Regions from separate parts of the Homo sapiens genome. Here all the other regions are linked to region 1. The links are contacts of gene promoters, found by promoter capture Hi-C in human tissues and cell types (Jung and others, 2019). All regions are on one chromosome and are shown on one strand. Each heading gives the region's core, a stretch centred on a gene start or on the middle of the fragment in contact. The rest is flanking DNA. Distances are from core to core; before and after follow the strand shown. Region 1 holds the start of MEX3D (mex-3 RNA binding family member D). Region 2 has its middle 30 kb from the start of ONECUT3. Region 3 overlaps ATP8B3 (ATPase phospholipid transporting 8B3).

The links. Contacts are between HindIII fragments. The study calls those that stand out against the background at their distance.
Region 2: a contact is called between a fragment that was not itself captured here and the fragment with the promoter of MEX3D in region 1, in 3 of the 25 tissues and cell types used here (adrenal gland, dorsolateral prefrontal cortex and spleen).
Region 3: a contact is called between a fragment that was not itself captured here and the fragment with the promoter of MEX3D in region 1, in 3 of the 25 tissues and cell types used here (lymphoblastoid cells, mesenchymal stem cells and spleen).

What each region holds. Positions count from the first base shown.
Region 1 is chr19:1,567,066-1,570,734 of GRCh38, forward strand. It overlaps MEX3D (mex-3 RNA binding family member D), which reads right to left and starts at 1,260. Exons shown (of 2, transcript NM_203304.4): 1 at 399-1,260. The coding sequence starts at 993. It also overlaps the pseudogene RN7SL477P. RefSeq lists silencers at 1,260-1,449, 1,490-1,539. The HindIII fragment of the contact is 18,806 bases long and covers 1-3,669 here.
Region 2 is chr19:1,721,553-1,724,807 of GRCh38, forward strand. No RefSeq gene overlaps it. Among named protein-coding and RNA genes, the nearest start is that of ONECUT3, 30 kb to the right of the region's middle. RefSeq lists a silencer at 1,437-1,626. The HindIII fragment of the contact is 4,546 bases long and covers 1-3,255 here.
Region 3 is chr19:1,789,249-1,792,791 of GRCh38, forward strand. It overlaps ATP8B3 (ATPase phospholipid transporting 8B3), which reads right to left. Exons shown (of 29, transcript NM_138813.4): 19 at 2,753-2,887; 20 at 2,502-2,613; 21 at 1,509-1,584; 22 at 642-741; 23 at 113-479. Among named protein-coding and RNA genes, the nearest start is that of ATP8B3, 21 kb to the right of the region's middle. RefSeq lists an enhancer at 48-870. The HindIII fragment of the contact is 6,480 bases long and covers 1-3,543 here.

The DNA.
Region 1 (3,669 bases), core at 10-2,509:
CTGCGCTTGCCCCGCCCCGCCGCCTGTGCTGGGTGTGGGGCGCCCCCCGCCCGGCCGGAGCCCCGGGCCCTCGAGCCCCTCTCTGGGGTGCCCCTGCGGGCGGCCGAGGGCCTGGGCTGCGGCGCGGCTCCCCGGAGCCTTTCCGGGCTGGAGGCGGCCCAGACAAAGGCGGCGGCGGGGCCGGAGCGCGCAGGGGAGGAGCGCGGGCTGCGCCCAACTTTCTCCCGCGGCGGCTGCAGGACAAAGGCGCAAAGGCAGCGGCCGAGGCCGGAGCCCACGCGGGGCGTGTCCGGTGCGGGGCGTCCGGCGCGGGCTGGGCTGGGCTCGGGCGACCCCCTTCCCCGGGGCGGACGGTGCGGGGACCCCCAGGACAGCAACCCCCGACGAGGGCCACTCACCCTGGCGACCCACGATCTCGGCGACGTGCTCGGAGCTGGGCACCGGGACGCACTCGGTCATGTTGACGCTTTTCTTGCGGCTGCCGATCACGCTCATCTGGTCGGCCAGCAGCGTCGGGGGCCCCAGGGCCGCGGGGTGGGGCGCGAAGCCCGCGAACACGTCGGGGGGCGACGGCCGGGGCGGCGGCGGCGGCGGGGGACTCGCGTTGGGGTCCAGCAGCGGCAGCGACCCGGGGGCCACGGCGGGGGCCAGGGTCGGGGGCGCGCCGGCCTCAGGTCCGTCGGGGGGCACAGGCTCCGGAGCCGCCCCGCCGTCCGCGCCCCCCGCCGCCGCTGCGCCGTCCCCGGCCGCCCCCTCCTCGTCCGTGTCGCCAGCGCCCCCCAGCCCGAGCGCCGACAGCTGGTCCAGCGCCAGGCGGAGCGCGGCGGCCGCGTCGTCGGGTTCGGGCGGCGGCCGGGGCGCGGGCGCGGCCTCCTGGGCGCCCTCGGGCGGGGGCGCAGGTCCGGGTCCGGGGTCCTCCCCCGCCGCCCCCACGCCGCCGCCGCCGCCGCCCCCGCCCCCGCCGCCGTCGGGCTGGCCGAGCGAGCTGGGCATGGCGGGAGCTAGCGCTGGGGCCCGCGCTCCTGCCGCCCGCGCCGCCGCCGCCGCCCGCGCCGCCCTCCGCCTCTGCGAGCTGGGCCGCCGGCCGCCTGCATCCAGCGGCGGGGGCGGGCACGGGGGGCCGGGCGGGCGGGGCGGCGGCGGCGCGGGGCTGCTCGGGGCCGGGCCGGGCCGGGCCGGGCGGCGGCAGCGACTCTGGCTGCGGCTCGGCGGCGGCGGCGACGGCGGCGGCGGCTCCTCGGCGGCCGAGGCGGCGGCGGCGGCGCGGGACGCTCCTTCCCTCCCGCCGCCTCCCGCGGCCCCGCCCCGGCCCCGCCCCCGCGACGTCACGCCGCGGCCCAACAATGGGCGGCCCCCAGGGCGCAGGCGCGCGGGGCGGGGCCGGGGCGGGGCCGGCGCCGGGCACGTGGTCCAGGCCCCGCCTCCGCCCGGCGCTCGGGCGGGAACCCGGGCGCATCCGCACGTGCGGGCGCTGCTGCAGGTGTGTGCGGCTCAGCCCCTGCCTGGACAGCGCTCCCTCCCCAAGCCTGAGAGTCCCTGCCTCGCGCGCCCCAGGGCCCGAGGTCCCGCTCCCCAATTTCCCCTAGAGATCCGGGTCGCCCCCAAGCGAGGTCTCTTGCTCCACGCCCGCTTCCTTGTGCCAGGGACCCCCACCTCCCTGCATAAAGGCGTGGGGTCCTCTCCAAGTCCCCCTCGCGATCCCACTGGACTTCGAAGTCAGGCTCCTGCCCGCCCACCGCCTCTGTGCCAGGGTCCAACCCCCGCCCCACGGTGCACCCCCCAGGGCCTGGGGTCCCAGTCCCCAAGTACCCCTTGCTATCAGGTGGGCTTTAGGGTCAGGCCCCTGCCCCACCCCCAGCCTCTGTGCCAGGGACAGCTCCACAATCATGCACACCCCAGGGCCTGAGGTCCCTCTCCCCTAGTCTCTCCTAGCTCCCCTCTGGCTGGCTCCCGGCTTTGGGATCAGGCCACCTCCTCCACGCCACCTCCTCCGCCCCACCCAAGGCCACAGACCCGGTCTCTGTGCCCCCAGCCAGAGACCTCTCTACCACAGTGGTGCTTCCATGGCGAGGGCAGGCTCACACCAGCCAGAACCCTCCATGTGGAGCCCCACCCTCTTCTGGGGTGCCTTTCCCCGCAACGGGCGTTGTCCACCTCTAAAGCCACCCTTGCCGGGCGCGGTGGCTCATGCCTGTCATCCCAGCAGTTTGGGAGGCCGAGGCGGGTGGATCACGAGGTCAGGAGTTAGAGACCAGCCTGGCCAACATGGTGAAACCCCCGACTCTACTAAAAATACAAAAATTAGCCAGGCGTGGTGGCGCGCACCTGTAATCCCAGCTACTCAGGAAGCTGAGGCAGGATAATTGCTTGAACCCTGGAGGTGGTGGTTGCAGTGAGTCGAGATTGCACCACTGCACTCCAGCCTGGTTGACAGAGCAAGACTCCTCTCAAAAAAAAAAAAAAAAAAAAAAAATAGCCGCTTTCCCAGCGGCTCTTCCTCCAGCTGTCCTTCGGGGCCTTCCTTGCACCTGTGGGGTTTTTTGTGATAAACCTGTCTGGCTGGGTCTACCTGCCCCCCTCTTCTACCAGACCTGTCCCTGGCTGGCTGTGCAAACTTGGACCGAAGGCAGGGCTCTCTGGGCAGGAGTGGGGCAGCCTGCCCCTTTGCCTAGCAAGGCTTCTCCTCTGTCCCCTCCCCCCGCCTCACACACCCTGGGTCCCCCTCAGCCACTCTTCTAGTCCCTCAGCCACAGCCACCCACTGCTGGGCCCTTCACTTTTGGTGGCTTCTCTGCCCACTTCTTCCAGGCAGGCAGGGTCAGGATCCCCCTGCCTGGAGCCCTTCCCCACCCAAAATCTCTCTCCTGACCCCAGGCTGCATCCAGCCCCACTTCCCCTCCTGGGGTCCTGGACTTCTCTTTCGTGCACGCCCATGCTTGGAATTGTTTTTCTATCTCTCTTTCTTTCTCTCTTTCTTTTTTTCTCTTTCTTTCCTTTTTTTCTTTCTTTCTTCCTTTCTTTCTTTTCTTTTTCTTTCTTTCTCTTTCCTTTCTTTCTCTTTTTTCTTTTCCTTTTCTTTCTTTCCTTTTTTTCTTTCTCTTCCTTTTCTTTTTTCTGTCTTTCTTTCCTTCTTTCTTTTCTTTCTTCTCCTTCCTTCCTTGCTTCCTTCCTTTTCTTTCATCCTTTATTTCGTTCTTCATTTCTTCTTTTCTCTCCCTTCCTTCCTTCCTTCCTTCTTTCTTTCTTTTTTTTTTTTTAGACGGAGTCTCGCTCTGTCACCCAGGTTGGAGTGCAGTGGTGCAGTCTTGGCTCACTGCAAGCTCCGCCTCTGGGTTCACGCCATTCTCCTGTCTCAGCCTCCCGAGTGGCTGGGACTACAGGTGCCTGACGCCACACCCAGCTAATTTTTTGTATTTTTTGTAGAGACAGGGTTTCACCGTATCAACCAGGATTCTCCCTTCCTTCTCTGCTCCCCTCCCCTCTCCTCTCCTTTCCTTTTCTTTCTTTTTCGGACAGAGTCTTGCTCTGTTGCCCAGGCTGGGGTGCAGTGGCTATTCACAGGTGTGACCCCAGGACAGATCAGCATGAGAGCTTTGACCAGCTCCGTCTCTGACTTGGGTAGGTTCAGCCCTCCTTAGGCAACCTGGTGGTCCTCCCAGTCCAGGGAGGT
Region 2 (3,255 bases), core at 305-2,804, 150 kb after region 1:
CCCTGACAGCCTGTGGCCTGCTCATCACAGACGCGTCATCCCCACTCACCCAGCATGTCTTGAAATTTTTTTTTTTTGAGACGGAGTCTCGCTCTGTTGCCCAGGCTGGAGTATAGTGGCGCGATCTCAGCTCACTGCAACCTCCACCTCCTGGGTTCAAGCAATTCTCCTGCCTCAGCCTCCTGAATAGCTGGGACTACAGGCATCCGCCACCAAGCCCGGCTAATTTTTGTATTTTTAGTAGAGACGGGGTTTCACCACGTTGGCCAGGCTGGTCTCAGACTCCTGACCTCAGGTGATCCACCCGCCTTGGCCTCCCCAAGTGCTGGGATTACAGGCGTGAGCCACCATGCCCAGTCATGTCCTGAAAATCTTGAGGCATCTAAGTTCCGATGCCTTGCCCAGGCTCGTTTAATCCTCACAACCACCCCTGCTCACACAGGAGAAGACCAAAGCTCAGAGAGGTGAAGCCACCTGCCTGGGGTCCCATGACACAGGGAGGCAAATTCAGGTGTGTCCTTCTTATGAGTCTGTCTTATGAGTCCTGGCATTGCCCCTCTCATTGGCATCTTTTTTTTTTTGAGACAGAGTCTTGCTCTGTTGCCTAGTCTGGAGAGCTCTGCAGCCTCTGCCTCTCGGGTTCAAGTGATTCTCCTGCCTCAGGCTCCTGAGTAGCTGGGATTACAGGTATCCACCACCATGCCGGGCTAATTTTTTTTTTTTTTTTGTATTTTTAGTAGAGATGGGGTTTTGCCATGTTGGCCAAGCTGGTCTCGAACTCCTGATCTCAAGTGATCCGCCCGCCTTAGCCTCCCAAAGGGCTGGGATTACAGGTGTGAACCACCATGCCTGGCCCCATTGGCATCTTGAGGCTCAGCCCCATGTGAGGTGGGACGGGTGATGCTTGACCCCATATGGGGCCTGCCCCAGGATCTACTTGATGGAAATTGAAGATGTCAGAAGACACTGAGGTGCATCCAGGTTCAGAGATGTAGCTGCTGCACTAGCCAATGGGTGGAGGTGCCCAAGCGTCCATCACCAGAAGGATGGATCCACACAACTCAGCCACAAAAAGGAATGAGGCTCTGACCCAGGCCACAGCATGGATGAAGCTTGAGGACATCACACTCAGTGAGAGATGCCAGACACAGAAGGACAAATCCTGTGTCACTCCACGCATGAAAGTGCCCTAGAGTCATCAGATCCAGAGATAGAAAGTAACATGGGGGCTGGGCATGGTGGCTCATGTCTGTAATCCCAGTGCTTTGGGAGGCTAAGTTGGGAGGATGGCTTGAACCCAGGGGTTTGAGATCGGCCTAGGCAACGTGGCGAGAGCCTGTCTCTACGGAACATACAAAAATTAGCCGAACGTGGTGGCACCTGTAATCCTAGCACTTTGGAAGGCTGAGGCAGGAGCATGGCTTGAACCCGGGAGGCAGAGGTTGCAGTGAGCCAAGATCGTGCCACTGCACTCCAGCCTGGGCAACAAAGTGAGACTCTGTCTCAGAAAAAAAAAAAAAAAAAAGCTTGAGATGGGAAACTTTATTTATATATGTTTTAACACCGTTTAAAAAATTTTGGGCCAGGCGTGGTGGCTCTCGTCTGTAATCCCCGCACTCTGGGGGGCCGAGATGGGTGGATCACCTGAGGTCAGGAGTTTGAGACCAGCCTGACCAACATGGTGAAATCCCATCTCTACTAAAAGTACAAAAATTAGCCTGGCGTGGTGGCGTGCGCCTGTAATCTAAGCTACTCAGGAGGCTGAGGCAGGAGAATTGCTTGAACCTGGGAAACGGAGGTTGCAGTGAGCTGAGATTGTGCCACTGCACTCCAGCCTATGTGACACAGCAAGACTTTGTCTCAAGAAATAAAATAAAATAAAATAAAACAAAATTTTTCAGAAAGGGATGAAGTTCTGACCCAGACCACAGCATAGATGCACCTTGAGGACGTCACGCTCAGTGAGAGACGCCAGACACAAAAGGACACACAGTGTGTGATCCTGTTTCTATGAAATGCCCAGGAAAGGCCCATCCACAGAGACAGGAGGGGATGGAGGGGTCAGAAATTCTAGATGCTTTTTCATTCAGGTGTACGTGCTGGGGGGGCCTTTATTATTCACGTGCCCATCCTCCGCTTATTTCAATGTGTTACCCTTGCCCGATGCTGCTCTTCTGCTGTGTTCCGGAACAAAACGTACTGGGCATAGCTTTGCTACCCAAGCGAAGGGGACTGAGAAACAGCGGTGGCCTCCTCCTTGGGTGGAATGCTGGGTGGTCATCAAAGGTGATGGGGGAGGAGACATTTAAATGACACGGGAAGATGCCCGTGAGATAACAGGAAAGACACAGACCACATGAGAGTCAGAGGTCAGGTGAGCCCATTTTGGTAAAACCCCTGTCTGTTGTTTTTTTAAGAGACCGGGTTGGCCGGGCGCAGTGGCTTACGCCTGGAATCCCAGCACTTCGGGAGGCCGAGGCGAGTGGATCACCTGAGGCCAGGAGTTCGAGACCAGCCTGATCAACACGGTGAAACCCCGTCTCTACAAAAAATACAAAAGTAGCCAGGCGTGGTGGCGCATGCCTGTAATCCCAGCTACTCGGGAGGCTGAGGCAGGAGGATTGCTTGAACCCAGGAGACGGAGGTTGCAGTGAGCCAAGATGGTGCCATTGTACTGCAGCCTGGGCAACAAGAGCAAAGCCCTGTCTCAAAAAAAAAAAAAAAAAAAAAAGAGAGAGAGAGAGAGAGAGGGTCTTGCTCTGTCACCCAGGCTGGAGTGCAGTGATGCAATCATAGTTCACTGAAGCCTCCAACTCCTGGGCTCAAGAGATCCTCCTGCCTCAGCCTTCCAAAGTAATGGGACCATGGCCAGGCAGGTAGCTCATGCCTGTAATCCCAACACTTTGAGAGGCCGAGGTGGGCGGATCACCTGAGGTCAGGAGTTCAAGACCAGCCTGACCAACATGGTGAAACCCCATCTCTACTAAAAATACAAAATTAACCAGGTGTGGTGGTGCATGCCTACAATCCCAGCTACTTGGGAGGCTGAGGCAGGAGAATTGCTTGAATCCAGTAGGTGGAGGTTGCAGTGAGCCAAGATGGTGCCATTGTACTCCAGCCTGGGCAACAAGAGCGAAACTCCATCTCAAAAAAAAAAAAAAAAGAAAAGAAAGAAAGAAAAGAAAAAGTAATGGGACCACAGGAACTCACCACTCTGGCTATTTTTCTAATTTTTATTTTTGTAGAGATGAGATC
Region 3 (3,543 bases), core at 1,035-3,534, 220 kb after region 1:
GCCTCCATCAGCGCCCCCCTCACCTGCCCCAGGTCCCCCCAGTCCCACCACCGCCTCCGTCAGCCGCCCCCCACTCGTCCCAGGCACCCCCAGCCCCGCCGCCGCCACCCACTCTTGATCATGTTGATGTCGTTGGCACCGTCCCCGATGGCCAGGGTCACCACCTGGTGGTACTTCTTGACCAGGGCCACGATCAGGGCCTTCTGCTTGGGCGTCACGCGGCAGCAGATGACCGCCTGGCACTTGGACGCCAGGTCCACGAAGGCGCGCTCCTGCAGCACCTCGGAGCTACGGCGGGCTCTGGAGTCCTGGGCTGGCGGTGCAGCCAGCGGGAGCCCGAACCTCCGGCACAGCAGGGACAGGCGCCTGGCGTAGAGGAAATCCCTCCTGGACTGGCCGAGCTCCTGCCACGCCTCGTCCATGTTCACGTTCTGCGCCAGGGCGCGCGGCTCCTTCCGCAGGGACACCAGCAGTTTGTCCTGGCCGGCGGGGAGGGGGCTGTGCCAGGCGCCGTGGCCTCCAGGCCAGACTGGACCCTACCCGGCCCTCGGCCTCGCCAGCAGTCCCCACCCCGAGCCCGCCGCCCCTCCAGGCCCCTCCCTGGCGCCGGGACCCCGCCGTCCACCCTGAGCGACACTGACCAGGAAGTCTCCGTTAATGACCAAGGCCAGCTTGACCTGCGACAGGGACTCCCTGGTTAGAAGGTTGTTACTGTTTTCCCAGTAGGTCTCCAGGATGCGGCTGCGGGGCGCAGGGGTCAGCGGGGCAGGGGAGGGGGCGGGCTTCTCCCCACTTCCCCGGGGGCTCCACTGCCCCTCCCACCCCTTCCACTGCCCACTCCCCCACCCCTGCCCCTTCTCCTCCCCACTTCCCTCTTCCCCTCCCCTTTCCTCCTCCTCCCGCCGCTGCCCCTCCCCTTCCCCTCCACTGCCCACTCCCCCACCCCTGCCCCTCCCCCTTCCCTCTCTCCTCCCCTCTGCCTCCTCTCTCCTCCCCTCCCCCTCCACCGCCCACTCCCCTCCGCTGCTCCCCCCTCCCCTCCCTCTCCCCTCCCCCTCCCTCCACTGCCCCTCCCCTCCTCCCCACTGCCCCCATCCTTCCCCTCCACTGCCCACTCCCTCACCCCTGCACCTCCCCCTCCCCTCCCTTCCCTCTCCCCTCCCCTCTCCCCTCCCCTCCCTTCCCTCTCCCCTACCCTCTCCCTCCACTGCCCACTTCGCCACCCCTGCCCCTCCCCCTGCCCTCACCTTCCCTCCCTCTTCCCCCTCCCTCCTCTGCTCCTCCCCCTCCTCTGCCTCTCCCCTTCTCCCTCCACTGCCCCTCCCCCTTCCCTCCAAGCTCCCTCCACTCCCCATTACCACACTCCTTCCTCCTACCCTTCCCTCCCCTCTCAATCCCCCCCTTCCCACTGTGCCTTGGGCTCCCCGTCCAGTGAGACACGCACCTGGGTGCTCCTTGTCCTCACCTCCCCACTCCCCTTGCTCACCCCCCAACTCCCCACTTCTTACCTAATCTCCTTCTCCTCCAGAATGAGCATATTCTCTGACAGCAGCTCGCAGGCGAAGCCGATGTTCACAGCCGTTTCTGCGAAGCAGACCAGCTCAGCGCCTCTGCGACCCGCCCCGCACTGGCTGCCTGGGGGCCACGCCCACTCTGCCCGGTGAATCCTGGCCCGACCAATGGCAGCCACATGCCCCACCCCCTGGCCATGGTGATTGGTTCAGAGAAGGGCTTGTAACCCAGGCTCACCAATGAGAGCCAGCCCTGAGATTTTGGCTGTAGTTCTGGCCGGGACTGGGCTGCCCAGAGATGTGTCTGAGGCCAGGATCAGCAGGCACATGTGCCTAGGATCCACAGTGCCTTCAGGAACCCACAAAATGTCTCAATATCTTTTTAAATCAGAAGGGAAATAATTGAATATGTTTCCCTGGGCTGGCTCCTGGCCGACAGAGGGCACCCTGAAAATCACTTTTTTTTTTTTTGACAAGGGCTCACTCTGTCACCCAGGCTGGAGGGCAGTGGCGCAATCACGGCTCACTGCAGCCTCAACCTCCTGGGCATAAGCGAGCCTCCTGCCTCGTTTCTCTGGAGTAGCTGAGACCACAAGCATGTGCCACTGCGCTCCTCTGAGAGTTGCAGCATTTTTTTTTTTTTTTTGAGACAGAGTCTCGCTCTGTCGCCCAGGCTGGAGTGCAATGGTGCGATCTTGGCTCACTGCAACCTCTGCCTCCCAGGTTCAAGCGATTCTCCTGCCTCAGCCTCCTGAGTAGCTGGGATTACAGATGCGCACCACCACACCTGGCCAGGCCCATTTTTGTATTTTTAGCAGAGACGGGGTTTGACCATGTTGGCCCTGCTGGTCTCGAACTTCTGACCTCAAGTGATCCGCCCGCCTCGGCCTCCCAAAGTGCTGGGATGACAGGTGTGAGCCTTCAAACTTCAGGGAAGTTTGAAGACCCATGCTGCAGGGGCTTAGCCACCCGGAGCTGCCCGGGACTCACCCTGCTTGTCCCCGGTGAGCACCCATATTTTGATGTTGCTCTTCTTGAGACATTTGATGGTTTCAGGGACACCGTCCTGGAGTCTGTCCTCGATGGCTGTGGCTCCCAGCAGCTGGTGGGGGAGGAGGGCAGGGCGGGGAAGATGCTGAGCAGCCGTCCAGCTCCCTGGCGGGGGCAGGAGAGTCCCAGGGCCCCCTTGGGTGCCCCCGCTGCCCACCCACCCTGAGGTCCTGCTCCATCTCGTTGTACACCTGTTGCAGGGCCTGTGCCCGGTTCTGCAGCAGGAGGCTGGCCTCCTGGTGGCGCTGCTGCCAGTCCTCGTAAATGTCCTCAGCCACCTCCCTGTAGGCCAGGCACAGTGTCCGCAGGGTCTCCTGGGCAAAGGCCTGGGGGCCGGGCAGGTGGAAGCTGTCACCATGCTGAAGCCGACATCCGAGGCTCAGCCCTCCCCAACCCCCTGCCGGGCTCCGGAGCCTGGGTCCCCCAACCAAAAGCCTGTTGCCTCCCCAGCCAACAGCAGCCAGAAGGGATTCAGAAAACTGGTCTGAGGCCGGGTACGGTGGCTCACGCCTGCAATCCCAGCACTTTGGGAGGCTGAGGCAGGCGGATCATTTGAGGCCAGGAGTTTGAGACCAGGTTGGCCAACATGGTGAAACCCTGTCTCTACCCAAAATACAAAGATTAGCCAGGCATGGTGGTGGGTGCCTGTAGTCCCAGCTACTTGAGAGGCTGAGGCAGGAGAATTGCTTGAACTTGGGAGGCGGAGGTTGCAGCGAGCTGAGATCACACCACTGCACTCCAGCCTGGGCGACAAAGTGAGACTCCATCTCAAAAAAAAAAAAAAAAATAGAAAAAACAATAGAAAGAAAGCGGGGAAGAGGGCTGGGCGTGGTGGCTCACACCTGTAATCCCAGCACTTTGGGAGGCCGAGGCAGGCGGATCACTTGAGGCCAGGAGTTTGAGACCAGCTTAACCAATACGGTGAAACCGCGTCTCCACTCGAAACACATAAAAAATTAGCCAGGTGTGGTGGCGCATGCCT